Regions from separate parts of the Homo sapiens genome. Here region 2 is linked to region 1. The links are contacts of gene promoters, found by promoter capture Hi-C in blood cells and fetal thymus (Javierre and others, 2016). All regions are on one chromosome and are shown on one strand. The core of a region is centred on a gene start or on the middle of the fragment in contact, and the rest is flanking DNA. Distances in the headings are between cores, read along the strand shown.

Region 1 (6,189 bases), core at 1,466-3,965:
AGTAGCTGGGACTACAGGTGCTCGCCACCACGCCCGGCTAATTTTTTGTATTTTTAGTAGAGATGGGGACCATGTTAGCCGGGATGATCTTGATCTCCTGACCTCATAATCCACCCGCCTCGGCCTCCCAAAGTGCTGGGATTACAGGTGTGAGCCACCACGCTCGGCCGCTAATTCTTTAAAATTTTTAGTAGACATTAAGTATCACTATGTTGCCTAGGCTGGTCTTGAACTCCTGGGCTCAAGCGATCCTCCTGCCTTGGCCACCCAAAGTGCTGGGATTACAAGCGTTAGCCACTGCACCTGGTCTGATAACCCCATCTTTATACTGTTGAACAATTTGGAAATTCCTAAGGCTTTATTTTATTTTACTTTGGAAAACGAAGACCCTTCATTTAACCTGCCTTGCACCAGGCATGCTGAAAGTATACTGGTGGACAAACCAGACTGAAATCCTTGCCTTCATGATGCTTTAACCGGGGGAGTGCCGGGCAGATTGACAGATGATAGATAAATGAAATATACAGTATGCTAAAGAACAAAGTTGAGAAAGGGGGTAAAGACTGCAATGGGGACAGGATGTTACCATCTTAAACCGAGTGGGCAGGGAAATCTTCACAGAGAAAGGGATATCTGAGTATAGAACTGAAGGTGAAGGAGGAAGCCAGGCCATTATCAGGGACAAGTGTTCAGGCAGATGGAATAGCTAGCGCAAATGCCCTGAAGCAGGAGTGCCTGGTATGTTCAAGAAATATTTAGGCATGGAAGCTACTGTGGCAGCAGCAAAGTGGGTAAGAAGGTGAATAGTAGAACTGAGGCCATCTGAATCATGTAGGGCCTTGAAAACCACTGGAAAGAAAGGACTTTGTCTTTTGCTAGGAGTGAGATGAGAAGCCACTGGAGGATTCTGAATAGAGGAGTGACATGACTTGACTTGTTTTAACAGTATCACTATGGATGCTGTGTTGAGAGTACACTCCAGAAGGCAAGAGGTAAAACAGGAAGACTGGCTAGGCCATTGAAATAATCCAATGGATCACTGAGATCTTGAGAAGAGGTCAAATGCTAGACAGGTATTTAAAATTTTTATTATAGAATTTTTCAAACATAATAAAAAGTAGAAAGAATAGCATTATGAACCCTTGTGTACCCACATCCAGCTTCTACACTTATCGATTTATGGCCAAACTTGTTTCATTTATACTCCCCATACTATTTCCTCTGCCAATAGAGTCCTCTGAAGTAAACCCCAGACATCTGATCATTTTATCTATCTATACCTCATTCTCCACCCCTCCAGCTTAGCCTTGGGGAGCAGCAGACTGAAGAGTGTTTCAGATGCGTTAAAAATCCAGGTAGAGACGTTAAGAGGGCAAGCAAGGCACACAGGGTATGTACAGACTGGAGACAAGGGAATGCGGTGGAAACCCAGGGTCTTCTAATAGGGCACTCCGACCTTAGAGGATTAACTGTGATGGCCCCAGCAGGGTGCCCAATGCAAAGCGGCTCTGTATATTATAACAATCAGTTATTTTTGTACCTTTCTCTTTCTTTCTCTAAAAAAGTGTAAGTTCTAGAAATGCTATTACGACTCTAGTTTTTGAAACACATTCCTAAGAAATGTAGAAGCAAAAGCACAACAAATGATTTTAGCAAGTTTTACACAGCATTTACAGGATACGCTATGCTTAATTCAACTCACTGGTAAAAATACGATTCACTGTAATGGATTTAACTCTTCACCTGTGAAGTGGCTTATTTGAATCAAACCACCCTATCCATTTTTAAAGAAAAAACAAGCAATTATTAAAGAGTTGTGGAAAAGCAAGATAATGTGATTTTTAGAAGGGAATGGTTAGCTGTATTTCATTACATCTTAAATATCTGGATACCCCTAATGTCTTTCAAGATGTCACTGAGAGTTCGTTCTGGTCCCGCAGGTCGCGGCAGCGTGTGTCTTTGTCCTGCTCAGGCCCCGGACCCTTACTCCACTCTTGGACACTCATCTTGGAAAGCCGCGGCAATGGCAGGAGAAATGGCTGCCCCAGCAAAGTGTCACAGGAATCATGCCTGGTCACCTTTACACAAACAGAACCACCGGTTTACCTGGCTTAAAAGTTTTGCTGGACCCAAGAAACGGGTAGATTTCGGATACTTCTGCGCTTCCGAGGGGTCGGGAAAGGCTCTGCGGTTCTAACTAACCCACGACTGCCCGGGGGTACCGAGCATTTTAGCTGTGGGGTCTCCCCCGCGCCAGCCTCTGGGCGCCCGGTCCCACAAATCTCATTGTGTCCTCGGTTCTGCCCGCGCCGGCTAGGCGTTCGTCTTCGCGTTTCTGGCTGAAACCCACTGTCTTTGGAGATTCCGACCCAACGAGGCCGAAACTAAGCCGGGAGACCTCCCAGGTAAGGAGCACCGAGATCGCCCCGAGGTGCGCGCCCCGCCCCGCGCCCGGAAGGACGGCGGCTCGGCCGCACCTGCGTCCGCAGAGCGAAACCTGGCGGGACGCGGGCCTCCCCGGATCCCTGGCTCCGGCCTCCCCCGCGGGCTATGGCAGGCTGAGCGCCGAGCGCGGGCAGCCGTCCGTCGCAGCACACCTGGGCCGGGGGCCGCCGGGCCCTCCTCTCCCGGTCACGTGGCCCCACCCCGGTCCCACTTACCTGCGCAGCCGCCAGGAAGAGCGCGCACGCTGCCCAGGACTCTGAAACCGGTATCGGGCTCCCGGGGTGGGGGCGGGGCCGGGACGGGACGAGCCCAGCTTTCCCCGCCCGGCTTTGCCCCGCCCGGATCTGTCGGCCCGACAACCGCTCTGGGCCCAGGCTGCTCGGTGCCACCAGCCGGCACGTCGCGGCAATGACCACACACTGGGCTCTTTTGGAAAGAGTTTACAGTTCTCATCGCAACGTTGCCATCCTCTTCCCTATCTTTTGAAAAGTTTGACACTGGGGGAGGGAGATTGGTGCACTGTGCTTAAGGACCCATGGCAGCGAGTGCGTGCTAGATAATGTTAAAAGACAGGAGAAACAAAATTAAATTCAACATTTTAATTGTGATATAACTTATGTAAATACTTTCCAAAAAGTATCTAAGATATTCCACTGTACAACACATCAAAACTATCTGAGAAGCGGGAGACAATAAAGTGTAAATAAGGCACACAGTTTACACTCGTAATTGCATCCTAAACTGTTGAATAGTTGATATTTACAACCCCCCAATAACGTTTTTGCATCCTGAATTAGTCCTTCACATCTTGATATTTGGCATAATGTTCAAACACACTTTATACACACTGACCGCTCCTTAAACCACTCACAGATTTAATAAATACCGAAAAAATTAAGAGATTTGAAGGCTTGATCTTCTATTTACTTCAAGATGACAGAAGAGTAGGTTTCTTGTGATGAAATACTACAAGAATGAAGAATTAACAAACTGTTGTGTAATTCATCAGAAAAGCATATTAACTCTGCTGAAGTACCACTGAATGAAACAAAAATGAAGCTGTGAAGTAGCAATCTGATTAGCAGGCTGGCTTCTATGTCCCATCACTCTCGTAGTCTTCTATTATTATGTTTTCTTCCATGTCTCCTTGGGCTGAAAAGGGCTGGGGCTGGCTAGCAGGCAGTTCACTGGCACTATTCTGACTCAAAGGAAGAGACCAGGTTTCCGGCACAGTGGCTTGAGTGGGTTCACCCAGAGATTCCTCTGCAGAATGTCCTCCATTAAGCTGGGCTTCATCTCCGCTGTCAGGGTCTATCATTCCATGTTCCCTGTCAGTCAGGGCTTCCATTTTCAATCTGTCAGATTCACAGTGCAGGCATTAATAAGAACCAAAGGAGAAGATTTTTAAATTACACCATGAGTGTGATGATTATGAAGCCATCTTTCATTTACCTACATTGTGCTGTTTAGCTAGTCCCTTTAACTATAAAAACAAAACTACAAGGTAAATGACAAACTGAATAAGTTCCTACAACTTAAAATACAAAAAGGAGCTGAACACGATGGCTCATGCCTGTACTATCTGCACTGTGGGAGGCCAAGGCAGGCAGATCACTTGAGGCCAGGAGTTCAAGACCAGCCTGGCCAACATGGCAAAAACCCATCTCTATTGAAAATAGAAAAATTAGCCAGGCGTGGTGGCACGCATCTGTAATCCCAGCTACTCAGGAGGCTGAGGCAGGAGAATTGTTTGAACCCAGGAGGCAGAAGCTGCAGTGAGCCAAGCTCGTGCCACTGAACTCCAGCCTGTACGACAGAGCAAGACTCTGTCTCCAAACAAAAAACAAACAAACAAAAAAACCAAACCAAACCACAACAACAAAAACACCTAAAAATAAAAAGAAATAATGTCTTCAGTAAAGAATTTTTCTTTTTTCTTTTTTTTCATTGAGACTGTCTTTCTCTATCGCCCAGGCAGGAGTGCAGTGGTGCAATCTCAGTTTACTGCAACCTCTGCCTCCCAGGTTCAAGCGATTCTCCTGCCTCAGCCTCCCAAGTAGCTGGGATTACAGGCACATGCCATCATGCCCAACTAATTTGTATTTTTAGTAGAGATGGGGTTTCACCATGTTGGCCAGGGTAATCTTGAACTCCCGAACTCAGGTGATCCATCTGCCTCCGCCTCCCAAAGTGCGGGGATTACAAGTGTGAGCCACCACACCCAGCCTTCAGTAAAGAATTTTTACAAATTAAAAAGGAAAAAATGAAATAGAAAAATGGGCACAAACATGGACAACTTATAAAACAAATACAAATGGTTCCTAAATTGTTAAATCTAATTTGTAATTTTAAAAATGAAAATTAACATAATGAGCTACTACTGTCATCTTTTTTTTTTTTTGAGACAGTCTTGCTCTGTCACCCAGGCTACAGGGCAGTAGCACGATCTTGGCTCACTGCAACCTCCACTTCAGGTTCAAGCGATTCTCCTGTCTCAGCCTCTGGAGTAGCAGGGATTACACGCGGGCACCACCACACCCAGCTAGTTTTTGTATTTTTAGCAGAGATAGGGTTTCACCATGTTGGCCAGGCTGGTCTCGAACTCCTGACCTTAGATGATCCACCCACCTCAGCCTCCCAAAGTGCTGGGATTACAAGCATGAGCCACTGCGCCTGGCCTATTACTGTCATCTTCTAAACTGGCAAAGATACTTTTAAAACCCAGTGGTGGCAAGGGTTAGGAGAAAAGAACATACTGATACACTGTAAGTGGATACAAAACTGGCAAAATATTCTTGCCAACAATTTGGCAATAAAGAGGAAAAGCCCCAAAAGGTATATACCTATTGATCCAGCAATTTCATTTGTAGGAATTCACCCTAAGTAAATAGTATTTGAAGTGCATGATGACTTATCTATAAGGCTGGGATAGTAAAAGCTGAAAAAAAGCTAAATGGGCAAAAATAACGTGTAGGTTGAATTACAGGAAATTAAACACCTATTAAATATTAAGTATTAATATTTAATACTAAATACTAAACATATGAACAATGGTTTTAAATATGGTCAACATAAATAAAAGATAGTACCAGTCATTGTAATATATAGCACTGAAAATACTGCCTCTCGTGGCCAGGCGTGGTGGCTCACGCCTGTAATCCCAGCACTTTGGGAGGCCGAAGTGGGCGGATCACGAGGTCAGGAGATCAAGACCATCCTGGCTAACACAGTGAAACCCTGTCTCTACTAAAAATACAAAAAATTAGCTGGGCGTGGTGGCGGGCGCCTGTAGTCCCAGCTACTCGGCAGGCTGAGGCAGGAGAATGGTGTGAGCCCAGAAGGTGGAGCTTGCAGTGAGCCGAGATCGTGCTACTGCACTCCAGCCTGGGCGATAAAGCTAGACTCCGTCTACAAAAAAAAAAGAAAAGAAAATACTGCCTCTCAAGTCACATCAAGTAGGTAGTTGAACCAATAATAAAATAGTGAAGATTCTCATTCAATTTAGCCTTGTGTAAATTGCAGCAACTCAATACATCTCAGGAGCAAAAATACAATAGAACATACTTGTCTTTATTTTGATGCCATAATCTTAGGGGGTTGGGGAGAGAAGCCATCAAAGAGACTTGGTCCTGCTTTCATTCAGAGGGATGTGAGAAGAAAAGCAGTGTTTATGAAATGTGTAAGCCCTGATCACATCCCAGTGGGACGATGCTTCAAGATCCATCCATCATGGTCTTTCTGCGA
Region 2 (6,252 bases), core at 3,641-6,140, 2.1 Mb before region 1:
AATCTTTTCTTGCTGAAACCTCCAGAGATGTCAGAAGCTCAGCTTTTTCCTTAAATTTAAGAAGAAATTAGCTAGTATTACTACAGAAACAATCTCTATGTTAATTTGGTTTGGTAGTTTGGCCTAAACCTCTAAGTTTACACATATCTACAAGCAGTTGGTTGCTCATCTTTTACAACACTAGAAAGTCACTTTTCATGAAAATGGTTACAGTACAGAAGTCAAAACTGTATTTTACTCATGCTCTTCATGATCTTGACAAAACAGACCTCATTGAGAAAAAAAATTTTTTTTTTTTTTTTGCCCAAACTTACTTTTAGAAGGAGCTGGGTGTTGGAAGCTCCTTTCTGCAGCAAATGATCTTCTGGCTTGCCTTCCTTGCTCTGATCTGTTGTGACTTTTTCTAAAACTGGTTCCTCTTTCTTACTGTGTGCTCTTCCCAAATTTGGCTTAGCCTTTTGGAATTTCCTTCTTGTCATTTGTGCTGAACTAGGAACATACGGTTTATTTTCATGTCTAGAATGAAGTATGAATCATGTTGAAGAACAAAAATCAGAATTTCTTGTTGATATAACAGCTGTTACATCAAACAATTTTGGATACAAATCAATTCTATGTTCAAAGGACTATATATAAATTGGCAATAAAATCAAGCATGTAAAATGAAACCACACATTGCTGATATGAAAAGAACTTATAAAGCATTTATAGCTTCCATTTTCTATAGAGCCTGAAAAAGTTTTACAATAATATTAATCTTTTTAAACTTTCATTTATTCATTCTATTATATGATTTCATGCTACTTTAATTTTCAGAGAAATCACAGGATACCAAAAAAAAAAAGGCAAGTAGCTGAAGATGGATTTCATAATGGCACTTTAAACACATGCCTTCAACTGGGCCCCCAAAGCATGAACAAATATATGACAGTTATAACCAACTCGATACTTCTAGTTCTAAAGTAGACTTGAAGGGTAGAGTCTATTCTCCTAACAGATGCCTGAACTCTCACTAAAAAGGGTTTACTGACAACCAATGTCATAAGGTTCTCAATATAATCCGTCTGTATCTGCCAAATAACAAAAAGACGTTTTAGCATTCAAGAGAGTAGCCAGAGCTCCCAAGGTAACCTGAATAGCTATCTAATGGTTTCCTGGACAATATTTTAGCAACTGGCAAAGATCTGAATTAGGAAGCTTAAAAACTAATAGAGACCAGGCACGGTGGCTCACGCCTGTAATCCCAGCACTTTGGGACGCCGAGGTGGGCGGATCACCTGAGGTCGGGAGTTTGAGACCAGCCTAACCAACATGGAAAAACCCCATCTCTACCAAAAATAAAAAATTAGCTGGGCATGGTCGTGCATGCCTGAAGTCCCAGCTACTCGGGAGGCTGAGGCAAGAGAATCACTTGAACCTGGGAGGTGGAGGTTACAGTGAGGCGAAGTTGCACCACTGCACTCCAGCCTGGGCAACAAGAGCAAAACTCTGTCTCCAAAAAAAAAAAAAAAAACTAATATAAACCTGAATATTTATAAAGAATAACTGGATATATAAGTACCTATCTTGAGTTCTCTGAAAGATCTGCATTAAAAACTAATCTTTTTTTTTTTTTTTGAGACGGAGTTTCGCTCTTGTCACCCAGGCTGGAGTGCAATGGTGCGATCTCGGCTCACTGTAACCTCCGCCTCCAGGTTCAAGCGATTCTCCTGCCTCAGTCTCTCAAGTAGCTGGGATTACAGGCATGCGCCACCACGGCTGGCTAATTTTGTATTTTTAGTAGAGATGGGGTTTCTCTATGTTGGTCAGGCTGGTCTCAAACTCCCGAACTCAGGTGATTCGCCCGCCTTGGTTTCCCAGAGCGCTGGGATTACAGGTGTGAGCCACCATGCCCGGCCTTCAATGCACCCTTTCAATGAAGCTTTCTCTGGTCACTGCTGATTAAAAAGTGAATCCCCAGTCACAACACTCCCTACTCAAAACTTTATTTTTCTCTACTGATTTATCACTTATTTATTCAACTTATTTCTCATTTATAATCTGTTTCTCAATTAGAATATAAACTCCACAGTGACAGCATTTTTTTCTTCATTTATTCCTACATCATCAGCACTTAGAACAATGCCTGGCACACAGCAGACACTAAAATGTTTGTGGAATAAATGAGTATATAAGGTTATTTTCAGTGGTAAAATTCTATAATTCTTTGAGATCAAAAAGGGATTATACATAGAAAATAATCCCATAATTAGTAATTAGGAGAAGTGAATGATGTAAACAAATTCATCTGTAATGTTTCCTAGACATTATCAGAGTTAAATTGCTCTGAGATCAATCATCAACCTAATCCAATATAGCATTTGTAATATAAGTCTAATGCATTTTAGTAAAAAACATTTCAATAAAATATCCAGTTTTAAAAACTGAAAAAATGGCTAAGGGAACCTAAAATTAATGTGAAGTAAAAATTGGCCTTAATCTTAAAATAAAAGCAATATGGAAAGACTTTTCAATGCATAGCACAGGGAACAATCAACAAAGTGAAGAGACAACCTACAGAATGGGAGAAAAAATTCCCAACTATCCATCTCACAAAAGTTAATAACCAGAATATATAAGGAACAAAAACAACTCAATAGCAAAAAAACAAATAATCTGATTAAAGAATAGGCAAAAGAGAACAGACAGTTCTCAAAAGACATACAAATGGCCAACAGGTGTCTGACAAAATGTTCAACATCATTAATCATCACGGAAACGCAAATCAAAACTGCACTGAGATATCCTACTGCCGTTAAAATGGCTACTGTTAAAAAGACAAAAAATTACAAATACTGGTCAGGATGTGGAGAAATGGGAAAACTCATAGGCTGTTCGTGGGAATATAAAGTAGGAATGCCATTATGGAAAAAAGTATGAAAGTTCCTCAAAAAACTAAAAATAGAACTACCATTTGATTGAGCCATCCTACTGCCAGGTGTATGTCCAAAAGAAAGGAAATCACTGTATCAAAGAGATATCTGAACTCTCATGTTTACTGCAGTGGTATTCACAATAGCCAACACATAATATCAACCTAAGTGTCCAGCAACAAATGAATAAAGAAAGTGAGAAAGTGTGGTATATATACACAATGGAATATTATTTAACCATAAAAAAGAATGAAATCCTGTCATTCACAGTGACATAGATGGAACTAGAGGTCATTATGTTAGGTGAAATAAGCCAGGCACAGAAAGACAAATATTGCTGGTTCTCACTCATATGTAGCAGCTTAAAAAGTGGATCTCATGGAGGTAGGGATTAGAATGGTGCTCACCAGAGGCTAGGAAGGCAAGAGGGAAGGGAGTAATGAGAAGCTGGTTAGTGTGTATAAAAATACAGTTAGATAGAAGGAATAAGTTCTGGTATTCAGTAGTACAGTAGGAAAAATTATAGTTAACAATCATTTATTGTATTATTTCAAAATAGCTAGAAAATTATGTTGCCAATATAAAGATAAAAGTATGAAGTGATGGATATCCCAGTTACTCTGATCTGGTAATTATATATTGTGTATAATGTATCAAAATATCACATGTAGTCCAAAAATATGTATAACTATTATATATCAAAAAAAAATTTAAGGCTTTTTAAGACAAAAAGCAGGGGGAGGGGCTGTAATATTGAAAACAAAAGTAATCCAGGTTGGGCGCAGTGGCTCATGCCTGTAATCCCAGCACTTTGGGAGGCTGAGGTGGGTGGATCACCTGAGGTCAGGAGTTCGAGACCAGGTTGGCCAACATGGTGAAACCCCATCTCTACTAAAAATACAAAAATTAGTAGGGTGTGGTGGTGGGTGCCTGCAATCCCAACTACTCGGGAGGCTGAAGCACAAGAATCACTTGAATCCAGGAGGCGAAGGTTGCAATGAGCCACGATCAAGCCACTGCACTCTGAGACTCTGTCTCCAAAAAAAAAAAAAAAAAAGTAATCCATACTAAAATAAAAACTTCACATTAGAAACTCGTCTAAATGAAAGCAAACTGCTTCAAGCATCTAAAATTAACAGAGGTCGGGCACGGTGGCTCACCATGTAATCCCAAGATTTTGGGAGGCCGAGATGGGCGGTTCACTTGAGCTCAGGAGTTCAGGACCAGCCTGGGCAACATGGTGAAACCCCATCTCTACAAAAAGATACAAAAATATTAGCCAGGCATGATGGTGTGCACCTGTGGTCCCAGCTACTCGAGAGGTTGAGGTGGGAGAATTGCTTGAGCCCAGGAAGTTGAGGCTGCAGTGAGCTGTGACTGCGCCACTGCACTCCATCCTGGGCGACACAGTGAGACACCTTGTCTCAAAAAGTAAATATAATAAAAAGAAAATATAAATCAATAGCACCTGTTTTGACAGATGACCTAACATGCCCAAATTCTAGCTTCACCTAACTAGAGAGGGTTAAAAAAGGATACAATAACATCTCCTCTGCATTTCCCAGAAAGCCAAAGTCACTCTACCTAATTAAAGGAAGCTGAAATATTTAAAGTATATTCATAAGTGCTGAAAACATCCTGGAGGAAAATTAATAAATACTTCACTAAAACATGTTCTAGTTACTAAGACAGTAAGTTAGATGGACCAAGAACTATATACAGAAAGGAAAGGCGTTTTTACTAAAGAAAAGAACACATCTTGCTTTAATAATAAGAAGGCAGATAGCAAGTAATAAATAAAAGTGGTAATGTTAAAACTTCTTCACCCTACTAGCTCATCTCAATTAAAAGATATCATTCTTACCATTTGGCTTCGATGTAGTTACCTCTAAATATAGTATACTGTTAAGTATACTTTATAGCACTACCTATTAATGAATTTTAGTCAGTAGGTTATAAACTTCTTTTCTTTTTTTTATTTGTTATTTTTATAGAGACGAGGTCTCACTATGTTGCCCAGGCTGGTCTTGAACTCCTGGACTCAAGCGATCCTCTCGTCTTGGCTTCCCAAAGTGCTGGGAGATTACAGGCGTGAACCACTGCGCCTGGCCTAAATTTCTAAAAAAGATACAGAGAACTTAAGAATCTTTGTCTACTATTAAAAATTTAGTTTTGGTACCAAAAAGTAGGATGCTTGTCAAACTTTTCAGAGAAATTACATATACTTAAGGGAATATCATATACTTAAGAGAATATCAGCCATGCAATTCATACAGTATTCGAGAAGCAGATTTAAAAGACTCTAGTATCACAAGTATTTATTACTTTATCCTTTTAACATTTTCAGGATGTGAAGTTATTAATATATAAAGTCAACTATGCAAAAATATAACTTTTATCTTTGAAAAGTCTTATTTTTTCTCATTAAAAGCAAACTCACCTGATTGTTTCATTTGTTTTGTTAACATGAAGGTTTTCTACAAGAACCACCTGACTTTGATTTTCATACATTCTGTGTTCTGGAACTGCGGACGATGGAACTTCAATTTCAGTTTCAATTTGAGAATTTGACTGAAAAGACAAAATCATATTAGTATGTTATTTTTATAGCAGAATATACCTCTTAAAATATTTCCACCATTAAGATATTTAGTTTTTTAAAATCCCTTTTCTTTTTTAAATTTTTATTTATGCATTTTGAGATAGTCTCATCATACTGCCCAGGCTAGTCTCAAAGTCCTAGGCTCAAACGATCCTCCTTCCTCAGCCTCCTGAGTAACTGGGATTACAGGCAGATACCACCATGGGTGGTTAATTCTTTAAAATTAGATTCAAACTGGATATGTAATGTTCACATTCTGTTGCCAAAAACAAGGATGCCTAGTTCAGAGAAAAGTTTCAAAGATTATTGCAGTAATATGTTTACATAATACTTTGAAAACTATAATAGTCACCTGCTATGAAATTAAAAATAAACAAAGTTTAATTTTTTTTTTTAAGAAAGAGCTTTTTGGTTCAAATAAAGATTATTTTAAATCTAGACTTTGCATTGTTTAACAGAAAAATAAGAACTACCTAAAATGAACATTTTTAGACATTACACTACTTAGACTTTTTCCCTAATACCAAAAGACCCATTAATAAGAGATTAAACTGTTACTCAAAACAGCATGTTATACAGCAAAAATGATGTAACTAACATATTTCTTGATCCAGAAAGCCACTTAACATAGTATTCAGTGAATAACAGAAAGTTATAGTACGTAATGACTTTATTGTTTAAATTTGCATAAGTGTGCACATAATGTGTGCATGGAAATAAATCCAGTAAGATATGTCA

The links. The method cuts DNA at HindIII sites, captures the fragments that hold promoters and counts their contacts. A CHiCAGO score of 5 or more calls a contact.
Region 2: a fragment that was not itself captured here is called in contact with the fragment with the promoter of MARVELD2 in region 1 in 1 of 17 cell types (M2 macrophages); the score reaches 6.4 in M2 macrophages.

What each region holds. Positions count from the first base shown.
Region 1 is chr5:69,411,642-69,417,830 of GRCh38, reverse strand. It overlaps MARVELD2 (MARVEL domain containing 2), which reads right to left and starts at 2,715. Exons shown (of 7, transcript NM_001038603.3): 1 at 2,661-2,715. RAD17 (RAD17 checkpoint clamp loader component) reads right to left here. Exons shown (of 19, transcript NM_133338.3): 19 at 3,030-3,800. The coding sequence ends at 3,539. RefSeq lists enhancers at 1,172-2,054, 2,055-2,938. The HindIII fragment of the contact is 19,290 bases long and covers 1-6,189 here.
Region 2 is chr5:71,516,553-71,522,804 of GRCh38, reverse strand. BDP1 (BDP1 general transcription factor IIIB subunit) reads right to left here. Exons shown (of 39, transcript NM_018429.3): 22 at 5,353-5,483; 23 at 315-516; 24 at 1-49. Among named protein-coding and RNA genes, the nearest start is that of BDP1, 64 kb to the right of the region's middle. The HindIII fragment of the contact is 5,933 bases long and covers 1,924-6,252 here.